Regions from separate parts of the Homo sapiens genome. Here region 2 is linked to region 1. Evidence: promoter capture Hi-C in 16 types of primary human blood cells and fetal thymus (Javierre and others, 2016). All regions are on one chromosome and are shown on one strand. Each heading gives the region's core, a stretch centred on a gene start or on the middle of the fragment in contact. The rest is flanking DNA. Distances are from core to core; before and after follow the strand shown.

The links. Contacts are between HindIII fragments. The CHiCAGO score rates a contact against its expected background, and 5 or more counts as called.
Region 2: a contact is called between a fragment that was not itself captured here and the fragment with the promoter of TMEM102 in region 1, in 1 of 17 cell types (total B cells). The highest score is 5.9, in total B cells.

What each region holds. Positions count from the first base shown.
Region 1 is chr17:7,433,959-7,437,224 of GRCh38, forward strand. It overlaps TMEM102 (transmembrane protein 102), which reads left to right and starts at 1,477. Exons shown (of 3, transcript NM_178518.3): 1 at 1,477-1,738; 2 at 1,895-2,127; 3 at 2,236-3,266. The coding sequence starts at 1,914. RefSeq lists enhancers at 1,161-1,330, 2,382-3,266 and a silencer at 3,027-3,266. The HindIII fragment of the contact is 10,292 bases long and covers 1-3,266 here.
Region 2 is chr17:7,052,923-7,056,149 of GRCh38, forward strand. No RefSeq gene overlaps it. Among named protein-coding and RNA genes, the nearest start is that of SLC16A11, 10 kb to the left of the region's middle. The HindIII fragment of the contact is 959 bases long and covers 1,317-2,275 here.

The DNA.
Region 1 (3,266 bases), core at 227-2,726:
GACTGTGAGAAACAGCCCAGTCTCCAGTTCTCCTGATCTGGCCTCTTGGGTCACAGCCAGATGTGTGTGTACGGGAACCTACTTGCGCAGTTCTGGGCTGCTTTGGTGCTCTCGCTTCTCCCAGGGACCCCAGCTCTGGTTGCTGAAGGAGAAAACTCTCTGTCAGTGACGAGGAACCCCTGAGTCCTGGGCTTGCCAAATTGATCTCTACAGTTGGGGAGTCTCTTCTTTTACAGGCCTCTAATTTTCCTAGATGTCCTCCTTAATTATCTTATCCATGGACTTAGGCCTATCCCGTCCTGGAGACAGACCAAGGGCAGAAGGAATGTAAGAAGTCGTGGCCCAGGCCGGGTGCAGTGGCGCGTGCCTATAATCCCAACACTTTGGGAGGCCGAGGTGGGAGGATCACCTGAGGTCAGGAGTTCAAGACCAGCCTGGCCAACATGGTGAAACCCTGTCTCTACTAAAAATACAAAAAATTAGCCAGGTATGGTGGCAGGCGCCGTAATCCCAGCTTCTCGGGAGGCTGAGGCAGGAGAACTGCTTGAACCCGGGAGGTGGAGGTTGCAGTGAGCGGAGATTGCGCCACAGCACTCCAGTCTGGGCAACAGTGCGAGACTCAGTCTCAAAAACAAAACAAAACAAAACAAAAATTTGAGATCCCAAAGTGTTTTCCCTGCCACGACTCAGGTAGCAGTGAGCTGAGGTGGGCATCACTAACATGTATGTCTCTCCTATGAGTCAAACGTCCATTTCTGGGTCACCATCTGTGTGCTCCTGCCTAACACTACCACTTTTGGGATTCCAAGATGCACCCCCCCCACCCCACCCAGGCAGGGGTCCCTATCTCTCCCCAGGCCCTAGGGTGGAGTTTCGCTCTTATCACCCAGGCTGGAGTGCAATGGCACAATCTCAGCTCACTGCACCCTTTCCCTCCTAGGTTCAAGTGATTCTCCTGCCTCAGCCTCCTAAGTAGCTGGGATTACAGGCGTCTGCCACCACGCCCGGCTAATTTTTGTATTTTTAGTAGAGACAGGGTTTCGCAATGTTGGCCAGGCTGGCCTTGAACTCCTGACCTCAGGTGATTCACCCGCCTCAGTCTCCCAAAGTGCTGGGGTTACAGGCGGGAGCCACCGCGCCCGGCCCATCCCTCATTATTTTTTGCGACTCAGAGCCATCCTATTACCCCTCTCAAACCCCAAGGAATGTTTGAGTGGGGTTGATATGGGTGTGAAAAGACACAGAATAATCTGTCTCCAGAGGAACTACAACTTCCATCAGGCACTACTTCAGCGGAACAGGAAAGGATGTGGGGGCGTGGCTACCACGCCCTAGTAGAGCGGGAAACTACAACTCCCAGGATAACGCGGGATTTCAGCAGGGCCAAAAGAGTGATTGAGCTCTGACTGGCGACCCGACCCGGCGGAAACCACCTCGACAGCCTCCAGAAAGGGGCGTGGCTGAAAATGTAGGGGCGTGGCCACGTGGGCATCAGGAAGAAGTAACCTGTTGAATCTATTTCTGCTCCCCACCCTTACTGCTTCCCATAAGGGGGAAGCCGCAGACTAATAAGCCTCTTCCAAAAAAGAGGTAAAGGGAGGTAGACAAGGGGCGGCAGCGGAGGCTGGCTACTGCATTCCGTAGGAGGAGCCAACAGTTACTTTTTACCTGCTGAGTCCGGTGAACCAGTTCATGGGGGCGGGGACCTGCCTATGAGAAAAGGGCCAGGATAGAAGAGGTATTTATTTGTTCATTTTGAGGACTAAATTTAGAACCCATCATCTACAGACCCATTTGTAGGTTGTGTCTGGGGCACTCGCTCGGCCTCAGGAAGAGGGAAGAACGGGGACGACTTTGTGGCAGCAAAGCCACCTCCCTTCCGTGTTTTCCGCAGCCCAAAGCGATAGAACCGCATGGCTTCCGCAGTCTGGGGGAGTGCCCCCTGGTGGGGCCCGCCGCCCCCGGCCCCAGCTCGGCCGCTCACGGACATCGACTTCTGCTCCGGGGCGCAGCTGCAGGAATTGACCCAGCTGATCCAGGAGCTGGGTGTGCAGGAGAGCTGGAGTGACGGGCCCAAGCCGGGAGCCGATCTCCTCCGGGCCAAGGACTTTGTCTTCTCTTTGCTTGGTAAGTAACCCTACTTGCCTTTGGGAACTCACAGCTCTCAGCCTCACCACGCCCCCGCCCCCGCCCCGGCTTTGGGCGACGCCCTCACGATCCGTTCCCTTTTTTTAGGTCTAGTTCACCGCCGGGACCCTCGCTTTCCTCCCCAGGCAGAGCTCTTGCTGCTTCGTGGTGGGATTCGCGAGGGCTCCCTGGATCTGGGGCATGCACCCCTGGGTCCCTACGCCCGGGGACCTCACTACGATGCCGGCTTCACACTCCTAGTGCCCATGTTTTCACTGGACGGCACTGAACTGCAACTGGACCTGGAATCCTGTTACGCACAGGTCTGCCTCCCAGAGATGGTGTGCGGAACCCCCATCCGGGAGATGTGGCAGGATTGCTTAGGACCCCCAGTCCCAGGAGCACGTGATTCGATCCACCGAACGGAGAGCGAAGAAAGTTCCAAGGACTGGCAAAGCTCTGTAGACCAGCCGCACAGCTACGTCACTGAGCACGAGGCGCCGGTGTCTTTGGAAAAATCGCCTAGTGACGTTTCAGCGTCCGAGTCGCCTCAGCATGACGTCGTCGACCTTGGCTCTACCGCACCTTTGAAAACAATGAGTAGTGACGTCACCAAGGCAGCCGTCGAAAGCCCAGTCCCAAAGCCGTCGGAGGCTCGGGAAGCGTGGCCCACATTATGTTCCGCCCAGGTGGCTGCCTGGTTCTTTGCTACGCTGGCGGCGGTCGCCGAGTCTCTGATCCCTGTCCCGGGTGCTCCGCGTCTGGTGCACGCAGCTCGCCACGCGGGTTTCACCACCGTCCTCCTGGCTACCCCTGAGCCCCCTCGCCGCCTCCTGCTCTTCGACCTGATCCCAGTGGTGTCCGTGGCGGGCTGGCCCGAGGGGGCTCGGAGCCACTCGTGGGCCGGTCCGCTGGCCTCTGAGTCGGCTTCCTTCTACCTGGTGCCCGGTGGCGGCACCGAGCGGCCGTGCGCCTCCGCCTGGCAGCTCTGTTTTGCCCGCCAGGAGCTGGCGCTCAAAGCGCGCATACCAGCGCCGCTGCTGCAGGCGCACGCGGCGGCCCAGGCGCTACTGCGCCCGCTGGTGGCCGGGACCCGGGCGGCGGCGCCCTACCTCCTGCGGACGCTGCTGTACTGGGCG
Region 2 (3,227 bases), core at 546-3,045, 380 kb before region 1:
AGTCTCCTCTGTCGCCCAGGCTGGAGTGCAGTGGCACGATCTCGGCTTACCACAACCTCCGCCTCCCGGGTTCCAGCGATTCTCCTGCCTCAGCCTCCTGAGTAGCTGCGACTACAGGCACCCGCCACCATGCCCGGCTAATTTTTGTATTTTTAGTAGAGACGGGGTTTCACCATATTGGCCAGGCTGGTCTCGAACTCCTGACCTCGTGATCCACCCACCTCGGCCTCCCAAAGTGCTGGGATTACAGGCATGAGCCACTGTGCCCAGCCAGACCTGGTGAGTTATTAAAAGCACAGTCCCTGAGTTCCGACTCCCACCATTTCCAGGCATCTATAAAAAGGGGGCAATGCTTCAAAGGATTGTTGGTGAGACTTCAGTGAAGTAAAGCTTGGGAAGGACCCAGCACAACTCCAGGCACAGGGCAGGCGTCCTACAAATGTAGGTTCCCATCCATTTCATTCCATCCCATTTTCTAGCCACCGGTAGCCACCCTTTCATCTCTACGCCAGTCCAATTCTACTCCAAGTCACTATGCCCCTCCTGTCTGGATTTGTGAGGGGCAGTCAGACCAGAAGGGGCCAGAAGGTGATATTTGTCATCTCCCTGCTGCTATACCAACCTCTCAGCTACCTGAGTTTTTTGGGTCCCTTTGTCTGCCTTCCCAGCCTCAGCCTGAGACCTGGGCATCTGACTTGAAGGATGCAGGCTCTTAGTGGACATGGTAACCCACATCAGCCCTTAGGGCTGCAGCAGCCCTGCCTGGCCAGAGTCTCTACCTCCCCAAGGAATATCAACCAGGACCAGAAGCCAAGGCAGGAGGGGACAGGAGGTCAGATAACAGGTTTTCTGCAGGGATGTAAATTACACATCTTGGAGGATCTGACATATGCAAGGCAGAGTTTTGGGGGCCCAGTAAGCAAATGGTGCCTGTTTTCTTGCCCCAAGGCAGAAATGCCTTTGTGAACACTGGGAGGAGTCGCGTGGGGGCTAAGCCCTGAGAAAGTCCCAAAGTCATAGAAGGGCCCAGACGCTGAAGAGGCTGCAACTGGCTGCAGTGGATGCCACACAAGCCTCTTCCTGTCCTTGTGCAGGTGGATCTTGTCCCTCCCAGTGCGTTCCTTTCTGTACCTCTTGTTGGCCATGAATCTCCTTTGCCCCTGCCCACATCTCCATGCCATTTCCTCTGCAAAGCTTTCTCCTGCCTCTCCCCTACTGTCAAAACGTTTTAAATGCTGGGCAGCATCTCTTCTTTAGGGTTCCTTCCCTCTATCCCATTCAAAGAGCCATACCCAGCTTTAGCTACCTCCATCTCAAGCTTTCATCCTATCTTTCTCTCCTCCATTCACAATCAGGAGTCCCTTGCAATGAGACCGATTCTGGTTTAAAACACATTTGTGAGGGACGGGTGTCATGGTCTCACCTGGAGGGAAATCACACCTGCACAGGCCTACAGAGAGGTGAGGCGGGGCCTCGGGCATCTCATCAACTGGGTACGTAGAAAGAGGACTCTGATTTTTTTTTTTTTAGATGGAGTCTCATTCTGTCACCCAGGCTGGAGTGCAGTGGCGCAATCTCTGCTCACTGCAACCTCCGCCTCCCAGGTTCAAGCAATTCGCCTGCCTCAGCCTCCCGAGTAGCTGGGATTACAGGCACATGCCGCCATGCCCGGCTAATTTTTTGTATTTTAGTAGAGACAGGGATTCACCGTGTTACCCAGGCTGGTGGTGAACTCCCAAGCTCAGGTAATCCACCTGCCTCGGCCTCCCAAAGTGCTGGGATTACAGGCTTAAGCCACCATGCCCGGCCGAGCACCCTGATTTATGGGTAATCAGCTTCCCCTTCCCTGGGCCCAGGGATCTGGGAGATAGGAAGTTGATGCCACCGCCCCAAGAGCTGATGTTTCAGGACTGTGGCCAGTGAGTGCTGAACACAGTGAGCAGCAGAGTGGGCTGACACCTGAGCTCCAGGACTCATAAAGCCCCGCTGTTCTTGCATGGCATGTGGTTTCTGGGTTTATTTCCCTGTTGTCCTTGAGGAGAGTATATTTATTCCCTAAGTATGCAGGGCTTAGGGCTAAAAGCATTCCCCATGCTTACAGAAATGCTAGGGATATGAAAAAGTGTACCGATTTCCAAATACAAAAGGCAAACTTAAAAATCTAAAGTAATGAATATTAAAGCGTTTTTAAAAATGTCTACAAAACATAATATTAGTCCATTTCTTTGTTAAATTTCATGTTCCTAAATTTTCATTACATTGGAAAACAATTTGAAGCTTTTTTTCACTTTGCAGGATTTCCTAAATGTTTATCGTGATTGCTGAGAAATCAGAGCCAATCATAGATTCACTGAGTTTCTTATAGACAAACAATCCTTTAAAAGAATAAACGTCCTTTTAAGATTTTAAACGGCAAAAAATCTTAGAAATCTTTTAAATTTTTGGGCCGGGCACGGTGGCTCACGCTTGTAATCCCAGCACTTTGGGAGGCCGAGGTGGGCGGATCACGAGGTCAGGAGATCGAGACCATCCTGGCTAACAGGGTGAAACCCCATCTCCACTAAAAACACAAAAAAATTAGCCGGGTGTAGTGGCGGGCACCTGTAGTCCCAGCTACTCGGGAGGATGAGGCAGGAGAACGGAGTGAACCCAGGAGGCGGAGCTTGCAGTGAGCAGGGATCGCACCACTGCACTCCAGCCTGGGCGACAGAACAAGACTCCGTCTCAAAAAAAAAAAAAAGAAATCTTTTAAATTTTTAATTGTAAAAATATATTTAGTGTGGAATGTGAGTGTATTTTAGTATATGTTATTAAGAGGCAACATAACATGGTGGGACAAACACGAACCCTGGAACCAGATTGTCTGGGTTCAAGCCCTGGCTTTGGTACTTACTGGCTATATAACCTAGAGCAAGTTATTCAACCTCTCTTTGCAATAGTTCCCTCATCCCCAAAGCAAATTATAATAGTTCCTACTTTTGAGGAAAAAAAAGATGGTAATTGCTATGATCTTAATGTTTGTGCCTCTCCCCGTCAAATTCATATGTTGAAATCTAATCCCAGGCCGGGTCCGGTGGCTCACGCCTGTAATCCCAACACTTTGGGAGGCCGAGGTGGGCGGATCACCTGAGATCAGGAGTTCGAGATCAGCCTGACCAACATGGAGATACTCTGTCTCTACTAAAAATACAAAAAAATTAGCCGGGCACGGTGGCACATGCCTGTAA